Linked DNA regions of Homo sapiens: all the other regions are linked to region 1. The links are contacts of gene promoters, found by promoter capture Hi-C in blood cells and fetal thymus (Javierre and others, 2016). All regions are on one chromosome and are shown on one strand. Each heading gives the region's core, a stretch centred on a gene start or on the middle of the fragment in contact. The rest is flanking DNA. Distances are from core to core; before and after follow the strand shown.

Region 1 (3,351 bases), core at 227-2,726:
GCGGAACTTCTCAGACAGTATTTCGGTCAAAGAGATAATGGTTTGGAAGACAAAAACAATAAATCGATACCGAAGGGTTCCCTTTCCGGAGTGATTTCCCACTGGAAACCACCGAACGGGGAAGCCTGCCGTTCATTCCCAAGCCCACGGCTCCTCTAGAAACGCACACAATGCGTGCTTTCAAAAAGGCATTCGTCTGCTTTTAAGGGAATTCCTATCTTTTCAGAGTCCCAAAACCAGAGAGCACAAGAAAGAGACTCAAATCCATTGATTAAGATTTTTAAGAAAAAGACTAACACACAGGCACAACACAAGCACACACCAACCTTCGCCGGCTGGACCACTTCTTGCCTGTTCTTCTTTCTATTAACGACACGTTAGATTCTGATACATTCCCCCCCCAAAAAAATCCAACTAGGTTACAATGTAGCTCTCTAGCTCCACTTAACCTGCAAGTTACAAAGAGAGAAAAAAAAAATCCTGCCTTCCCACCCCTTTCCTTACCCCCTCCCCCTCCCGAGTCCACTCCACCAACGCCAAACCCGCCAGCCCCGCCAGCCGGCTGCAGGACCGAGGGAGGGTGCAAAAGGCGGGGGGCGGAGGGGGGGTAGATCAGATTAGGCGAAACTCAATAAGCTCCCAGCCCTCCAGCCCAAAGCTTCCACCATCGCCGCCACCAACGAGCCACTCCAATTGAGCCAGCATCGCCGCCCACCCGCCGGCCCGCCGGAATCGCGCCCATCTCCTGCAACCTCGCCCGGACCGGCATCCCGCCCCCTCGGCCCGGTCTCCCCCTTCCCGCCGGGTGCAAAGTCAAAGACCCAGCAAGGCGACGTGAACTTTTGCATGCAGGGCACACACGTCGCCCCCGGTTCCGGGAGTGCGGGGGCCCGCGGCGCGGAGGGAGGCTGGGCGCCCGGGCTCCCGGGCCAAGGTCGCCGCGCGTGCTCACCCATGTCCCGGCGGCTCCGGCTCCGCTGGCCCCGGCGCTCGCTCAGATCCCGGCTCCCGTCGCTCGCCCGAGCCCCCAAAGGTGCTGCTGCGGCAACTCCATGGCGATGAGCATCTGTCAAACGGCGAGCCGCGAGCTGGCCGCCCTAGCTCGGGGGGCGCCGGGGCCCCCGGGCGCGCGGAGGCGGCGGCGAGCGGCGGGCGCCCCGGCCGGCCCCGCGCTTCCCGCCCGACTCTGCCGCCTCCGCCGCGCCACCGATTTATGGAGAGAGATATCAAGGGGGAAAATGGCGTCTCCGGAGCCCGAGGAGTCCTGGAGTAATCACATTCACACACACACGCCCGCACGCACACACACTCGCACACACTGGCACACAGGCGCGCGGCGAGCCCTGCTAATTTTAGCAGGAGCCAAAAAAAATTTTATATATATATATATATATATATATATATATATATCCCCGTCTCTCCGATCAATGCTTTTTCTTTTTTTGCTTTTTTTTTTTTTTTTTTTTTTTTTTTTGCTTTTCTTCAAAGGATGGGTTGGAGCGTTAAAAAATGTTGGTGGGTTTGGGCTCGCAGGAGGCGGCGCGCGGAGGGCGAGGGCGCTTTTGCTGAGCTGTGCAGTTCGGTCCGCTGAGCCCGGCGGCCCTGCCCGCCCGCTCGTCCGCCCGCGGTCGCTAGTGTTGCCGCCGCCGCCGCCGCCGCCGCCGCTGCTGCTCCATGGCCGCGCCCGCCCCGCGCCCCCGCCGCGTCCCGTCGCCGCCCGCCCGCGTCCCCGGTGAGCGCTGGAGTGGGGTCGGGCCCGTGTGCCTGCCTCCCGCGCCCTCTCCGAATCCCGGACTCCTAGTGAAAGGAAGGGGGAGGGCGCGGGCGCGGAAGGGAGGTGGATCGGAGCGGCAGCGCGGCCCAGCCGAACGGGTACCGACCGTCACCCCGCGATCTTCCTCGCAGGGGGCGCCGGCGCCCAAGCTGCTCGCCCGGAGGGCCCAGAGCCGCTTCCCAGACCAGAGCCGGGGGAGGCGCAGCCAGTAGCGAGCCCTGAGCGACCTCTCTCCCCACTCGCCCCCCTGCCCCAGTGAATTTCTGTCAGTTGAAGGGAGCGGGGCTCTTGCCCGGGGAAAAGGAAAACAGTTCGTGGCCTGGGATCTGGGACCCCTTGCCGCCCCCAGCGCCCCTCCCGCTCCCCGGCGCCCTTGCGGCCCAGTGGCTCCTGCGCGCCGGAGTCCGCCGCGAAGACTGAGCGGCCGCGGGGATCGCCGCGGGCTCCGCGCGTATTCCTGGGCTCAACACTGCCACTATCTGACACAACAGGAGCAGTGTCGGGGGGGTACTGCGCGCCCAGACGTGAGCTGTGATAGGCTCTCGAAACTGGGCGCATTTTTTTTTTAACCTGGTAATTATATTTCACTTTCAGGGTTTTTTTAAATTATTATTATTATTTTATTGTTGTTGTTAAGCGACTTGTATGCATTCAGATCTCATGTGCATTTTCTCGTTATTCAAGAGAATTGGACACTTGATGAAGGGAAGGACACGGAGAGATGACAAACGCAGACTGGCATGCAGTTGTTTTCAGGGTGGGAAGAACAAAGTGGAATGTCTTCAGTTCTTACAAAATATGGTGGCATTTGTAATCTCTGAGTTTTTGTATTTGGCCTACAAAGGGGGTCTTTTCAGGGAAACACGAATGGAACCCTTCAGAGACATGTCTACATTGTAAAACAATATAGGATAGATACGGATTCGGGAAGGTCTGCAAATGGTTCCGCTCAAAGAACTTGGGGTAAAGTTGACCGAGGACTCGGATTCTGAGAGGACTCCTATCACGTTCTTCATGAGAGTTTTAGGCTATTTGGACTGAGGAATGATTTGGAGGTACGTCGGGGGCATTCCCTCACTGAGGCCATCAGTGGCTGCCTCCCTGCATTGGCTGCTGGTTTGAGTTCCTTCACAGAACTTCTTCGTCAAGTTTTTCATAGGAACGCTGCAGTGAAGTGGAGTGAAAGAGACTGGGGATTGAAGGGTGAACCCCTTCCAGCCCCAATCCCATCCCGATTCCTGTCTGGATGCAGATTCAGTCTGACTCAGAACGGATAGTTCACCCTTTTACTGATCCAAGTGCTCTGTCCTCTTTTTTTCAGAGGAATGTTCTGACTGGCTACAAACTTTTCTTCTGTCACTGCAGGACCTCCCGTGGAGCAATTTTCGATAGGTCTTCTACTATGCTTTTTTACCGCGTCATTGTTATTGCTGAGAAAATAATGCTTAGTTAGGAAAAAAAATAGCAGAGCATATGAGCTGATGATAGAAGTAGAGATCAAGGCACAGAATACAATATCAAAACAACTATTCTCTGTAATCAAATGACCTTTCTCATTTGCTTGTACACCCAGATTT
Region 2 (2,894 bases), core at 147-2,646, 170 kb after region 1:
TTTGGTTACGTCCTTTCAGATTATTTTTCAGATCCAAACTGCTTTGTGATGGGTGTAATTACCATTTCCTTAAAGACTAAATATCACACTGATTTGTAGGACAATAAATTGAGACAATTATGTGAACTGCTTATCTTTATTTTATGTGATGTAGGCACAGCTGATGTGTCCTCCAGTCTTGGGATGTAAGCAGTGAATTAGGTTTCAGAAGAGTTCAATGATTTTGCTATTTCAGGTGGCAAAACAAAACATACCATCCATTTCTGAGGGAATGGACAGCCCTTTTACATTTCCGCTTTATCCCACACTGTTCTTCCTTTTTCTCCAGGTATCAATGTGATTTCAATAGTGTGGTGCATATTGAGACACTACCAGCCTTGGGAAGACCAGGCAATCCACGTCCAGTGTGCTCTCTGATTAATTCTCTCATTTGATATACACAATCTTCTGTAGAGTTGTCAATACAGACATTATTCTTCCAAATTTCAGGTGATAAAACTGAGGCTCCAAAGAATAATCTATTAAACGGTAATGAATGAGGAAAATAAACACGCTGGGTATTTGATTCCCGGTCTAGGACCAGTTTCTCCATAATCAACAGATTCCAGTCAAACAGCAAAACAGCAAACAGCAAATATAAGTAAATTAAAAAAAAAACACGAAAATGGTAACACCTTAATTTGAATGCAAAGGCAAACAACAACATTTACAACAATGAAATTAAGACTCTTAAAGCTTTTCCAGTAAATTGCCTGATTATATTTGATAACTTCTTTCATATAAGTACATTTTATTTTTACCCTCTACTTAAGTGTCTTTCTAGCTTAATCTTACAAATAGCATATTCAGTTCATACATACATAGCTAGAAACACTTCTTGTGATTTTCTCCCTCCTTGCTCACGTTTTTTTCTGTCTCTCCCTTTTTTTATGATTATGGCAACATTGACAGCTGTGTTCATTGCGATCTATGGCTGCCTATACCTTTAAGTACCTAGCTTGGAAATCATTTTGTCCCTCTAGATTTGAAAAATTACACCCCATCTTCCAATTCAAGATACACTGAGACAGAGCTGTGCTGTCTGCAAGAATATTAGTTCTGAGAATAGGACTGCTGTTTGCACCACACACTCTGCTCTCTTGCCAGCAATAATCAAAGCGAACTTGTATTTCTTTAATGACAAAGCCTCCCGGTGTGTTAATTTGGTTCTCAGTGACACTACATCTTGTCAGAGGAGTGAGAGAAATGGGAAAACATACACTAATATCACTGTCAGCCAAGTGGCACATTTTTCTATGTAATCCATCTCTGGAAAGCAAGGGTCTTTGGCTCCCACCTCTTGGTGAATCTCTAGGATCTGTGAGTGCTGCAGACTCAAACTTCTCATTATGTCCAAGGGTAGGACTTGTCCCCTGTGACTGCTCACTCTGGCCCAAAGAAAATTCTGTTTCTTTGCCATGAGAAATGATGATTTAGGGGCATCATCTCTCTACTGTCCCCTAAATGTGTTTTATCCCATGGTACAGAAGAAAGAGGGGGTATATCATCAGATGGACTTCGCTGTAACTGACTCTCTGATGGTGGGACAATTATCCAAGTGTCAGTACCCTCGTTTGTAAGATGATGACATTGACGCTTAACTCTTAGACCATGGTAAGGATTAAGAATAATACCTGAATTGCTTTGTGGCCACAACATTTATCTACTTCTGTTCTCAGAACTGAGGTTGAGTTGTGAAGCAACAAAATAACAACTTAGCTCAGAGGCTATCTTGAGATATAGTTCTAGGTATTTCAAATGTGGCTAAAATGGGGAGCTGAGGCCAAGAGTGTCATCCCACACAGTTCCTGGAATATCTGTCCGCTCATATCAAATATTTCAAAACTGGGGACTCATTGAGCCCAACCTGTAAACTTTTAAAGTTCCAATGATCATTCTTTGGCCAGTATAGTCACTTGTGTTGTCAATTAATTTTAAGCACCACCTTTCTTCTGGGTTTTGTAGACAACTTTCTTCTACCTCCTATTCTTGGGCAATTCCTTACTCTTCAAGCTTGCATTTTAGCATTGGGTTTCTTTCTCAGATGTTAATGCTTACACTAATGGTTGTTGGTTCTAGAAATCATTATTATTCCTTTGAATTAGCAAATGTTTTCCAAATAGCTTGCTAAAGAGGAACTGGCACTTTCTTTTCCTCTTTCCTTTCTCGTCAAGAATGCTCTGGGTTCACAGCAACCACTGGAGCCTGTCAGCATGCCCATCAGACTGCAAACCAGCCCAGCTGAGGGGAGCACTTGCGGGAAGTTCTCAGGGTCTGCCTGTTTGGTTTGCCTCTTCCTGTTTGCCTTGTAGCTTTAAATAATGCGGTTGCTTCACAACCACTTGTTTTTTGAGTAGGGAACAGGGCATATTTTTCTAGCAGATAAAATGACTTCCCACCATTCACTCTTTGTTATTTCCCCTTTCTGAAGGGCAGTCTGATGAATGCAGGGCAATGTGTAATACATGTTTTCCTGTTTTCTGCTCTTTCTCCATTGGGCTTGTCAGTCAGTCGTGGGCTTGGTTCTGAGGAGGATGTGGCATTCATGAGAAAGAAGTCAAAGAGCGTTTGTGTGATTAACCTTCTCAGAGAGCACATATTCTGACTCCGTGTGAAGATCAGGTTCCAGGGACAGTTAACAATACCCATGATGCTCAATATACAAACCATGAGATGAGAAGTCAGTCATTAATAAAAGGGAGTCATAGAAACTCAGTATTACATCACTATTTCCTGAGATATCATATCAGACAACCTCTGTAGTAACCCACTGGTGAATTGTGATATGATATTGTTGATGAGACACTAATCAAGTGCTTAAATTTACTATGGAGAAAAATAGAGAAAATAATGTG
Region 3 (3,261 bases), core at 390-2,889, 210 kb before region 1:
TACACAGAATAATTTCCAAACAATAAAAGCTGTCCAGCCACAAAATACATTACCTGGCCAACAGAAAGCTCTCCATCACTGGAAACTTTCAAGCAGAGACAAGATGACCTACTAGGTATGCCTAACTGATTTTTTGAATTGGTAACAAGATCAAATCACAACCTATTTTAGAGCTAAAATTCAACACAATAGCACAGGTAAATGGGCTTTAAAAGGCCTAAGCCATGTACATATGCAGGTGACATTATGTCAATGCTGTCTGCACCTGTCTGCACCACCTGGAGTGTCTGTTTAAGTCCTCAAAAACACATTTTGCTTCCCATCCTTAATTCCCATATAAGGCCATTCTCTAAGTTCTATTGCAAAACTTGGGCAGCCATGTAGCTCTCCACCAACGAAACAGCTAGGCCTTTGTGCAACTTCTCATCCATAGTGGAGAGCCAGTGGAATTTTATTTTTGTTTTGCTTACTTCTCTTTCAGCCCTTTAATAGCAAACAAACAATTTGGAGATAATTTAGGCTCCAAATAAACTCCTCACTCCTCCTCTCATGCCCAAAAACTGTCAAAATGTTTGAATGTAAAAGGATTATTCAGGATTCATTTTATAAGACATTTGAGCTTAATTTCTGTTGTTTCTTCTCAAAGTAGAGCACTTCTCCTCCCCTCAACTTTTGAGTCTGGGTTTCTCATCTCGTAGGTGGGTTTGATGAATATATCTGTTGATCATGTGCAAACTCCTTTGAGAAAATAAAAAGCAATGTTCAAACGTTCAAAAATAATGTCTTTTACAGTTCCTATTTCAAGACATCTATGACAAAAATCTCTGTGAAAGACATGTGACCTAAAGAGGAAAAAAATGCCTCCATTATACAGAAACTAAAATGGTTTGGCATTTGTGAAGCAGGACTCTGAATTGGTCAGATAAAGACGGAAAGGAACAGTAGAAGACTAAGCAATAACCCAGGAAATCTGAAAGGTATTTACAGCCAGTTGAGATCATGCAGGCCTCAAATACATTTTTTTTTCAGGAATAGAACATTTGCAGCCTGAGTTAACAGCATAGTTACAGTAGTCTTGGCTCACTTTTGTGGAACAGACTCACCCATGATGACTTTAGAAGCTGTGGCTGGTGCAAAGCCCCATTATAAGACTTTCACTCATGCCAAGGTTGGCTTATAATGAGGCCCAATATAATCCACCTCTGTCCTATATTCAGAGGTAAAATCTAAGCACTGCAGTGCCTTACAAGCAATAGGTACTTAATAATGTTTGCTGACTGAATGTGTATAATAAAATGTAGATCAAACCTAGATGATCAAATATATGAGTGCTTCTGTTTCATTTCATTTTGTATTGATGTGCCCCTCTGATATGGTTTGGCTGTGTCCCCACCCAAATCTCATTTTGAATTCTCACGTGTTGTGGGAGGGACCTGGTGGGAGGTAATTGAATCATGGAGGCAGGCCTTTCTCATGCTGGTGTTGTGATAGTAATAAGTCTTACAAGATCTGATGGTTCTATTAGGGAGAGTTTCTCTGCACAAGCTATCTCTCTTTATCTGCTGCTATCCATGTAAGATGTGACTTGCTCCTTCTGCCATAATTGTGAGGCCTCCTCAGCCACGTGGAACTGTAAATCCATTAAAACTTTCTTTCTTTTGTATATTGCCCAGTCTTCAGTATGTCTTTATCAGTAGAATGGAAACAGACTAATACCCCTTCCTTGTCAAATGTTTTAGCATTTAGTGTTTGCCAAGAACCCTAGACTTGGAATCAGAAGATCCATGTAAATTCCAATCCAGTTTGGTCACTTACTAACACTGTGAGCTTGGGCAATTCATTTAATCTCTCCATCCTCAGTTCCTTAGAGTTAAAAAACTTGAATGACAGTAACTGCCTTCATGAGGTTGCAGGTTTTATTCAAAAATAAAATGCAAAAATCATTAGGAAATTACTTTTTAAGCAACAAAGCACTCTCAAGTGTAAGACTAGGTGAAAAAATTATAGTCCACAGGTCACCTTCTTATTTTCCTTCTTCCAGGTGTAGGCTGAGGCTATTTTGAGGGATCCTCAAAATTAAATAGAGGAAATGGGCATATTTGTTTTAATAATAACTTGATGATATATCGTGTCCATAGGATCTATACAAACATCTCCAAATACTCCATCTTTGACCTCTAAAAAGATTCCCATGGAAGAGCCTTCCCCATCTGCTAGAGTTTCCTAATCAGGTGAAGAGAAATAGGACAATCTCTCAGATGGAGAAAAACCCAGGACACAAAAGAATCTACTGTTATACAGAACTAACAGCCCCTTTATGTTTCACAATGTCGTTCTTGTCCTGCTTTTCACATAAAGATTTGGCGATACTGCAGTAAGAAAACATAAAACAAAACATCCTTGGGGGTGGGGTGAGGGGTTTGAGGAGATGCTGGTCAAAGAGTTCAAAGTTTCACTTAGGAGGAATAAATTCAGGAAACCTATTTTACAACATAGTGACTATAGTTAATAACAAGGCATGGTATCCTTGAAACTTGCAAGGTATTGTATACCTGGAAATTGAAAATAGAATTTAAATATTCTCATCACAAAAAAATGAAAAATGTGTTAGGTGATGCAGATGTTAATTAGCTTGATTCAGCCTTACCATGGATGCATATATCAAAACATCATGTCGTACATCATAAATACGTACAATTTTAATTTGTTAATTAAGTAAACAAGTAAACAAAAATGCTGACTGAATTTAAAAATCCTTCATTAAATGTTGGGAAAATATACTATCCAATAAAAGGGAGAACATTTTTAGAGAAATAGGGATTGCAGAAGAATTTCTATTGGCCAATTATTTGTAAAAGTTGTTCACTGGGGCTTCCCCACATAGACGGCAAGGGTTACCAACATTCAAATTTATCTGTTCTTTCTATGTATATATACACATATATCTAAGAAAACTGTCTTGGGTTAATTGTATATCAATAGGCCTCATCTCAATAGTTTAATTTAACTATCTGTTAAGACTTCTGCAGCAGAATGCAACAATTGTGGACCTCAGTGTCAACACTTTCAGGTGGAGAGTCAGTGCAACTCACACCTAGAAGACACCATCACCACTCCCTTAGCAACGCTCTGAGCTCCCTAGAACAGAAGATGACTTGAGCATCCAAAGACAGTATTTCTTATGACTCTAGTCTACACTCCCCACATGACTGGGGCCAAACTGAACTCTGCAGGGAATCAAAACAGTCTAAGCTAACTGAT

The links. Contacts are between HindIII fragments. The CHiCAGO score rates a contact against its expected background, and 5 or more counts as called.
Region 2: a contact is called between a fragment that was not itself captured here and the fragment with the promoter of SETBP1-DT in region 1, in 1 of 17 cell types (M2 macrophages). The highest score is 6.5, in M2 macrophages.
Region 3: a fragment that was not itself captured here is called in contact with the fragment with the promoter of SETBP1-DT in region 1 in 4 of 17 cell types (M2 macrophages, M0 macrophages, M1 macrophages and 1 more); the score reaches 7.9 in M2 macrophages.

The regions. Positions count from the first base shown.
Region 1 is chr18:44,677,997-44,681,347 of GRCh38, reverse strand. SETBP1-DT (SETBP1 divergent transcript) reads left to right here and starts at 1,476. Exons shown (of 2, transcript NR_187430.2): 1 at 1,476-1,732; 2 at 2,459-3,351. It overlaps SETBP1 (SET binding protein 1), which reads right to left and starts at 460. Exons shown (of 6, transcript NM_015559.3): 1 at 327-460. RefSeq lists silencers at 586-635, 776-1,025, 1,696-2,335. The HindIII fragment of the contact is 7,071 bases long and covers 661-3,351 here.
Region 2 is chr18:44,507,542-44,510,435 of GRCh38, reverse strand. The region is part of intron 2 of LINC01478 (long intergenic non-protein coding RNA 1478); the gene reads left to right. Among named protein-coding and RNA genes, the nearest start is that of LINC01478, 23 kb to the left of the region's middle. The HindIII fragment of the contact is 1,317 bases long and covers 738-2,054 here.
Region 3 is chr18:44,889,408-44,892,668 of GRCh38, reverse strand. The region is part of intron 3 of SETBP1 (SET binding protein 1); the gene reads right to left. Among named protein-coding and RNA genes, the nearest start is that of MIR4319, 79 kb to the left of the region's middle. The HindIII fragment of the contact is 4,115 bases long and covers 1-3,261 here.